Linked DNA regions of Homo sapiens: regions 1 and 2 are each linked to region 3. The links are contacts of gene promoters, found by promoter capture Hi-C in blood cells and fetal thymus (Javierre and others, 2016). All regions are on one chromosome and are shown on one strand. The core of a region is centred on a gene start or on the middle of the fragment in contact, and the rest is flanking DNA. Distances in the headings are between cores, read along the strand shown.

Region 1 (2,728 bases), core at 135-2,634, 2.1 Mb after region 3:
TTTTTTTTTTGAGACAGAGTTTCACTCTTGTTGCCCAGGCTAGAGTGCAATGGCGCCATCTCAGCTCACCGCAAGCTCCACCTCCCGGGTTCAAGTGATTCTCCTGCCTCAGCCTCCTGAGTAGCTGGGATTATAGACACGCGCTACCACGCCCAACTAATTTTGTATTTTTAGTAGAGACGGGGTTTCTCCATGTTGGTCAGGCTGGTCTCGAACTCCCAACCTCAGGTGATCTACCTGCCTCGGCCTCCCAAAGTGCTGGGATTATAGCTGTAAGCCACCACGCCCGGCCCATATATTTCTATCTTTTAACATTGTACAAGTGATATGAGACAATGTATATAAAGGACTGGCATGGAGTGGGCAGACAATAAGTGTAGTAAATATTAATAATAAGATTCTAATAATAGGAGTGGGTGCTCAGGAAAGCAAGGCATTTTACTAACAAAGAATAGACCAAAATCTTTATTTTGTCTCTTTGAAATGAGGTGATTAGATAATTAAATGTTTTAGTAGTTACGGTGTTCATTTTGATAACAGCACTGGTAATGTCTAGATCTTGTACTCCAAATTAAAATACAGTATTTTGGTGAATTTGATGGAGCATAAGGCACTGAAGCTGTCCACCTGTCACCCAACAATATTACTTACTTGATATTGATATTATTTCCTCAGTAATCGGCTCCATGATAAGAAAAATATTTGAAGGCTAGAAAGGACTATTTATGTCTGAACAATTGGTGGACCCCTAGCAGCCATGTCCACTGTACAGTTGCTTTGCGATGAAGTACACAGAGCAGAGAATACCAGTTTTCTTTGACTGGGATTTTAAAAAATATTTAGGATTATGTGTACATTTGGTACCACATACTCACCACCTGGCTATCAAGGATCTGAACCCGTTTTCTATAAAATATATCGTTTAAGTATAAGAACTCTGAAAGCTTGCCTACTTTACTATCTCTGTTTTTCAGCTCAATGCATAATATTACATTTGGAACCCTTCACATATTAAATTAAAATGAAGTTTATAAAATAAATGTCACATTTTTAAAATGTTTCTCTTTAATAGAAATAGTCTGATATTTAGTTTCAACACCATGTTAAAAGATCTAAAGATTATCATATATTATCAGATATACTGAGTCATAAATAAATTATATTTCCAAAGGATGGCTATTTTGAATTATGTTTTCAGATTGCTATGGTCTGAATGTTTGTGTCCCATCCCAAAAATGTATTTGTTGAATCCTATCCCCCACAGTGATGGTGTTAGGATGTGCGGTCTTTGGGAGGGGAGGAGGTCCTGAAGGTGGAGCCTCATGAATGGGTTTAGTGCCCTTATCAAAGTGGCCCCAGAGAGCTCCCTTGCCCCTTCCACCATGTGAGGACAGGGCAAAAAGGTGCCATCTATGAATCAGGAAATAGGACCTCAACACACACCATCTGCTAGTGACTTATCTTGGAATGTTCATCTTCTAGATCTGTGAGAAACACATTTCTATTGTTCATAAGCCACCCGGTTTTGGGTATTTTGTTATAGCAGTCTGAACAGACTAAAACACAGATGCTATCAAAGAAAAGTCTTATTTTGTTTTATATAAATATGTAAACATATATATAACAGAAATATGTAATAATGTAATATATATAATATGGTATATATATAAAATTCATATTTTTTGAAAGTATATTACATTTAGAAAGAATTTACCCAGTGTTCCTTTAAGTAGTCAGTTTTTGTAGCATATTTCTAATGGAAAACAGCCATGCGCAATGTAAAAAGCACTTACATTAGTAAGAACGGTTTGGTTTGCAAGCTTTAGAAACTCAATGCTAACTAACTTAACAAATAGAAAAGGGTAGGTGTAGTGGGGAAAGCGAGTCAGGAATATAAAATATATTGTTTATGCATGAAACCTTTGAAAGCTTACCGGCTCTACCTTATCTAGAACACCAGTTACAAGCACTGTAATTAAGGAATTCTAATACGATAACAGAAATACTCAGGAAATCCTTACCATCTCTATTTTTCAGTTCAATGTATAATATTACATTTGCATCCACAGGCTCAAGAGGGGCAACCACACCTAGGTGCCTGTCTGTGTCTGTCTGTCTGTCTGTCTGTCTCTCTCTCTCTACCTCATTCTCAGCTCTGGATCCCTCTAAGCTGCCTCTGTTTTCAGGCTGGCTCCCTCCACATAGTGGCATTCACACATGACCTTCTTCATCTATTCCCTCACTGTGTTCCTAGAGATGGTGATCTATAGGAAGGAAGTAGCCCCTCTTTCTATGGTTTCGGATGGGCAGTTCTACTCCAAGATTGCAAAAGTTCCTTTCTCTGAACTCCATGGTGGTCTCAAGACAAGATATTGCTTAAACTAGGCACAGAGGGCATGTTATCATGAGTATCACTTTGAAGCCCCCATGGAAAGGGCAGTGCTCCAGCAGTGTTGCCACACTCCCCTGAAATTAAAGTGCATGTATCTAAGCTCCACAGCTCATCGGGATCAGTTTGCAAGATTTGGGGAGGAAGTGACAAAGAAGAGCAGTTATCAAGCAGGAGGCAGAATAAGCAAAGCATATTGAATACACGACAAGAGATTTGTTTTTTTAAAAAACCAAAGCACTTGTAACGTTGACCGACAAGAGGTGTTAAGATGCCTGCCGGGCACAGTGGCTCACGCCTGTAATTCCAACACTTTGGGAGGCCGAGGCGGGCAGATCA
Region 2 (2,833 bases), core at 295-2,794, 2.9 Mb after region 3:
TTTTTTTGTCTTTTTCCCCTTTTGTGGAGAACAGGGTCTCGCTATATTGCCCAGGCAGTTCTTAAACTTCTGGGCTCAAACTATTCCCCCAACTCCCACTTCTGCCTCCCTAAGTACTGGGATTACAGGTGTGGGCCACTGCGCCCAGCACACCCTCACGTTTTTAAAGTCTTGAAATTCTCCTATTTCCGCTTCTCAAAAGGTCCAATCCTTTTCCTTAAACGTGAATATACCACATAAACGAACACGAAATAGAAACAGGGACAAAAAAGTATTTTTTTGACGATGGCAAACGGGAAAAAAAAAAAAGAAAGCTGTTTAGGTGGCATTTGAAAAGTTAAAAAAGAAAGAAAACTCAGAGCAGCCCAAAAGACAGATGATACCTAAGAAGGCACAACCAGCAAGACATGTTGACTGTTAGTATTATTTCAGCATCCTCCTTGAGCAGCTTGGCTTTGCTCTGGGACAATGCACCAGCCTGGGATGCTCAGAGATGCAGGCACGGAGGTTGTGCAGCCTCTCCGCACACTGCGCATGCGCGGCTGCCGGTTCAAGTCGCGGTCCAGGACCGCAAGGAGGCGGGCAAGCGAAACTGAGAAAAACCCACCCACGGTCCAGGGACTGGGGGCTCGGGCGAACCCACCCAGGGACCTCCTGACCAAGGCCATTTGTCTGCAACCTGATGGCTAGAAGTGATACCACCCTGAGCATCTTCAATCCCCTTTCCCCACTCTACAGCCCCTTGTACTGTCCCTCCTTCCTCATTCACACCCCTGATCCAAACTCAAGCACTGAATTTGTCCCCAGACGAGGGCCTCGGCTCTGCGCGGCCGCTGGCTGAGTAGCTTGGCCCGATTCCGGGTGTGAAGTGAGGAGGAATTGATGCGGGTAAACATACAGCGCCGGCCCGCGCCGCATCCCGGGTCTGCAGCTACAGCTGCGGCGAAAGCCCAAGGTGCGCGTGCGCGGAGCGCCACTAGGCAGCCCAGGACGCGCGGGCTCGGAGCCGGGCGAGGGGCCGCGGAAGGCGCGTGCGCAGAGCGACCCCGGGCGCGCGAGAAGGTCCTCAGTGCGCGTGCGCGGGGCGGGCGGGTGCGCGCGCACTTCCTCCTCGCCCCCACCCAGACCCAGAAGGCGCCACCATGGCGGCGCCCCCGCAGCCCGTCACCCACCTCATCTTTGACATGGACGGACTTCTTCTGGGTGGGTAGTGTGCAGCCGCCGCCTCCAGTAAGGGCGGTCTTGTGTGGGCGTGGGGACGGTCGGCGCGGGGTACGTCACGGCCTGGGGGCCGCGGCGGGGCGGTGTTCATGCAGGGACGCTCGGGCTCCCGCGCGCTCTGCCCCCGGCTGGCCCCGAAGTCGGGCGGCGGCCAGGAGCGCCCGCGGGCCCATGTCCGGGCTGGCGGGCGCGCGTGGCCGCGGCGTCTACGCGGCCCCAGCACCCGCTTCCGGTCGGCGGCCCGCGCGTGGGGCCGGAGCACGTGGGAGCAGTCCCTGGGGTCCACCGGGCGGGCGCGCGGCTCCGCGTCCTCTCCTCAGAGCGAGGCGCGGCGGGACCTCCGCGCTCTCTTTTCGGTTACGCATGCGTGCGACCTTGAGCGGTGCCCAGCCTCAGCTTCCCCGTCTGCAAAGTAGCCTGGAGGATACTTGCCTGCCTGCTCCAAGGTTGCTGCTGTGGGCGCACTTTGATGGTAGCATCCTGCATGGTAGCGGTTCTCTACCTGGCGGTTTTGCAGCCCTGAGGGCATCTGGCAATGGCGATGTCAGGAGACATTTTGGCTGTCACAGCTGGCGAGGAGTGATGGGGTCACTGGCATCTAGTGGAGTCCAGACCAGTGATACTGTTAAACTTCCCGCAGTGCACAGGAGTGCCCTATGCAACCATAAGGAATTATCCCGCGCCGTCAACAGTGTAGAGGCACAGAAGGTCCGTCAAGTGGCCTGGCTGCCTAGGGTGACCAGCACCGGGGACATCACCTGTGGGCTACTTGTAAATGTAGAAGCTGGGGCCCCACCCTACCCCTGCCCAATCAGAATCTGCATTTTAAGCGCGTGAACGTTTGAGAACAGCTGCTCTATCAATCCGAGGCATTAAGAAACCCTTGGCAGTGTACTAAGGTAGTCAGTCTTAGCACATGTGAACTTCACCAGCCAAGAGGAATTCAAGTAGAATTCAAAGAATAAAACCCTGTTTTTAACTCAAGACAGAACTATGCTGAGCTCTACCGAAAGCCTTGACACAGTTAACACTATGACACATAATCACCAGGAGGCTTCATATATCTATAAACATGTCTGCATACTCTTTGTAGACAGCTGACCTGCTTGGTTACGTATATCATTCCTTCATTTCAAAACCCTGCAAGTTAGGAGGAAGTATTTGCATGTCACTAATTAAAAAAAAAAAAAAAAAAAAAACCCTGCAGCTCAGAGAGGTAAAGCTACTTGCCCAAGGTCACACAGCTAATAAGCCAAGCTGAGAAACGATTCTGGATTGATCCAGTTCTAAATATAAATGATGTTGAGCTCATCTTAAATTGTGAATGTGACCTTGTTTCTGCTCATCATATTGCTGGGTAATTCCCTAGCAGTGTTTCCTTTTAAAAAGGCATGCAGAAACCATTCTCTTCATTTTATGAACACAGAGGTGTAAACTGATGAATTCCAAAGGAAAAAAAAAATCCCCGTAGAGGTCACTAATTGGAGCCAACGGTGTATGCAGCTACTAAATTTGAAATGACTCAATTTCAGAAAGCTTGTGGGATACATAGGTATAGTTTGTAGACATGAATTTTCCTACTCCGGTGGTCAAAAAGTTAAATTGTCAAATA
Region 3 (3,132 bases), core at 390-2,889:
ACATGGAATTAATTAAATGAAATCTGATAGTGCTTTTACAAGAATCAGTTTTTACTTGATTGGGTTTTTATACGTGAATAAGACAGCTTTGTACCCCATGCATATCTTTCACAAAAAGGAAACTTAAAATACAATTCTTGTTTTTCGTTTATTCCAAAAGCATATGGGACTAATCATATTGCATTCTGGCTGCAGTACAGAAGGCTATTTCAAACAGTTTTAACTCACGAGTTTTAAGGCGCTAAAGAGCAACTAGAGTTTGGGAACAGACTTCTCCAACTCCAAAAGGGTTGGGAATCCCTCAAGGGCCCGTCTGACATCAGGTTTTGGATGGAAACCAGCCTGAACCCGCCAGACAGGGAACCCGCACCCCAAAGCTGGGGCGCACGTTTGTGATCCAAGGTGACAGCTCATCTCGCCACCGCGGGGCTGGGGACACCTGCAGAACCAGGGCCGGGGCAGTGGGCCGCAGACGCCCGGGACCGGGATGGGCGAGGCTGCCGCAGAGAAAGGAAAAGAGGGCCATCTGTCAGCCCCAGGAGAGGAAATTCCAGGAGCCCAGTTCCCAGGCGCCGGACAGCGGGTGACGTGAGGGAACCGAATGAGAGGGTCCGCCCAGCGGCGGGGGACCTGTAGGCGGCCGGCCTCGGCGCTCAGAGGGCTCGAGGCCTGGAGAAGGGGCACCTCCATTCTTGGTCAGAGCCCTGGGAGTCGGGGTATTGGGAGGGTGGATCCTCTCCCGGACCCCCGGAACCAAAGATCTTCACCCAGCCCCGAGGGCCTCCTGGTGTCTCCGATCCTCTCCCTGGGCCCAAGGGATGGGGGCGCCTCGATCGTAGCCTGGACCGGAGCACTCCAGGGAGTCCCCTGGTTCCGGGGATGGAGGCGCTCCGAGCTCTGCCCGGGCCCGGGGGCTCTCGGCGGCGGCCCCGCGCTGGGCGGGGCGTGTCCCCAGCGCATCCGCGGTGGCGCCGGCCGGCGGCCCGGGTCGTAGCGCCCGCGCCGGGTCTGGCGCCCCCAGCCGGCCCGCTTACCGGTCGCGGGGGTCGATCCACGACGTCTGGCGCGTGTTGTGGTCAATGTAAAAGACGCGACCGTCGTAGTCTCGCGCCTCCTCCCAGCCGGCGGGCAGCGGCAGCTCGGCGCTCTCCCGGGCCCGCGGCGGCGGCGCGGAAGGAGCTGGGGGCGTGGGGACCGCGGCGGGGGGCGCCGGCGGCGCGGTTCCCGCTGGGGCTGCGCAGAAGGCGGCGGCTCCCGCGGGGCCTCGCGCGGCTGTCCCCGCCGTCGCCGCCGGCCGCCGCTCAGCCAAGGCATGACGGCGCGGGCCCCGCCGCCGCCCGGCCGCCCCGCGCGCGCCGCCTCCTCCGCCAGCACTAAGGCCCGGCGCCCGGGGCGCGGGGGCGGCCGCGGGGAGCCGCCCGCCGCTCCTGGCGCATCCTCCGCCCGGCGCCCGTGCACCGGCGTCCGCCCGCCCGCCCTAGCAAGCCGCTGCCCGCGCCGCCCACTCCGTTCAGGTAGCCCGGGTGGCCGCCGCGCGCGAAGTCACAGCCCGGGAGCCGCCGCCGCCGCCGCCGCCGCTGCCGGCCGCCCCTCCGTTCCCGCGGCGCGCCCGGCCATCTTCGTTCCTCGGCGCGGCCCGGGCGAGCAGGGGCAGGGCGTTCGCAGGCCCCGCCTCCGGCCGTCCCGCCCCGTTCTCACCCAGGCCCCGCGGCTCCTCCCACGCCGGCGGCTCCACCCACGCCGGCTGCTCCTCCCGAATCTCCCACGGAGGCTCCCGCTCCTCCCGCCGCCTCTGCTTTTCCACCCACTCCCGCTGCTCCGCCTCCCCCGGCCCCGCGTCCTCCGCGCCTCTCCGTCGCCGGCTGCTCCGCCCCCAGTCTCCCTCGGGGTCCTCCTCGGCGCTCGGCTCCTCGACCCCACCCCCACCCCTCCGCTTGCTCCTCCCCCTCCGCCGTCCTCCCTCTCCGCGCGCTCCTCGCTCTCTCCCTCCCGCTCCGCCACCTTCCTCCGGCCTCGGGAAACCGCATGGAGGCCAGGATGGGCGCCGCCGCGTCAGTCCGCCCCCGGGCCCCCGCGTAGAGGAAGGCGGGCGGGGAGGACGACGCCCTACCCGGACTGCGGGCGCGGCCTGCCTGGGGTGACTCCTCGGGCGCAAACAATTCCCGAGAGAGCGGGCAGTGCCCTCCCTTCACCCGCTCCCGGGCTCTGGCTGTCTGGAGACCCTCTGCGCACTTGGCGGGAGGCTGCGCCCTCGGTCTCCCACACAACCCGTCTGGTCCCGCGAAGGTGGGAAAAGCCCCTGAAGGCGGGGCCGAGGGAGCTGAGGAGCTGGGGGAGCCCGCGGCCGGTCCTCTCGGGCGGCGCAGGGAGGACGCCTCTGGAAGCGGGCAGCTGGGCAGGTGGCCACTTTGCGTCCCCGCCAGGACAGCCCTAGAAGGGCTAACCTGGGGGCCCACACTAGGCGGGAGTTCCTTGACCTTCCCTGAGCGCTTCATCCGGTTTGTGGGGTCTGATCGTTTGAGCGGAGACCCAAGTAGACCATTGCTGGGGAGGAAGCCGGGTCAACTCCTAAAACTTTCAGCCTAGACGGGAACTTCTGTTTCACTGGCTCCCAGCTGGGGAAGCTGAAGCTCCAGAGTTGGGGCTGTGTCTTGCTCTAAATCTCCCACCTACTTCGTGCCCCAGACCCACAGCCGCAACACGTTATGCCAGGAAATGCAGGACAGTATCAGGGAGATTTTTAAACAGTTACAGTGATACAAAAATATCTGGTAGAGCCTGATTGAAATCCAGATACACAGGGGAAGAGACTGGAGGAAAATGTCCTGAAATGCTCACAAGAGTTTGCATTCCTTTGGCGGGATTTTTAAAAATGATTTGCCTTCCAATTTTTTGTAAAATGGTAATATTACTTTTATGAGGGGAAAGGTTGTTTTAAAAAAGAAGAATGGGCCGGGCGCGGTGGCTCACGCTTGTAATCCTAGCACTTTGGGAGGCCCAGGCGGGCGGATCACGAGGTCAGGAGTTCGAGACGAGCCTGGCCAGCATGGTGAAATCCCCGTCTCTACTAAAAATACAAAAATTAGCCGGGCATGGTGGCGCACGCCTGTAATCCCAGCTACTCGGGAGGCT

What was found. Contacts are between HindIII fragments. The CHiCAGO score rates a contact against its expected background, and 5 or more counts as called.
Region 1: a fragment that was not itself captured here is called in contact with the fragment with the promoter of WWC3 in region 3 in 1 of 17 cell types (total CD8 T cells); the score reaches 5.3 in total CD8 T cells.
Region 2: the fragment with the promoter of STS here is called in contact with the fragment with the promoter of WWC3 in region 3 in 2 of 17 cell types (activated CD4 T cells and total CD8 T cells); the score reaches 5.8 in activated CD4 T cells.

The regions. Positions count from the first base shown.
Region 1 is chrX:7,930,643-7,933,370 of GRCh38, reverse strand. The region is part of intron 1 of LOC107985675 (a long non-coding RNA gene); the gene reads right to left. Among named protein-coding and RNA genes, the nearest start is that of PNPLA4, 4.6 kb to the right of the region's middle. The HindIII fragment of the contact is 876 bases long and covers 947-1,822 here.
Region 2 is chrX:7,146,423-7,149,255 of GRCh38, reverse strand. It overlaps STS (steroid sulfatase), which reads right to left and starts at 1,544. Exons shown (of 11, transcript NM_001320752.2): 1 at 1,173-1,544. It overlaps PUDP (pseudouridine 5'-phosphatase), which reads left to right and starts at 1,103. Exons shown (of 4, transcript NM_012080.5): 1 at 1,103-1,203. The coding sequence starts at 1,143. It overlaps MIR4767 (microRNA 4767), which reads right to left and starts at 1,396; the gene lies at 1,319-1,396. RefSeq lists an enhancer at 624-673 and a silencer at 864-1,583. The HindIII fragment of the contact is 8,353 bases long and covers 1-2,759 here.
Region 3 is chrX:10,013,761-10,016,892 of GRCh38, reverse strand. WWC3 (WWC family member 3) reads right to left here and starts at 1,639. Exons shown (of 24, transcript NM_015691.5): 1 at 1,220-1,639; 2 at 1,035-1,217. The coding sequence starts at 1,314. RefSeq lists silencers at 1,667-1,726, 1,767-1,936 and enhancers at 1,757-2,640, 2,641-3,132. The HindIII fragment of the contact is 8,733 bases long and covers 1-3,132 here.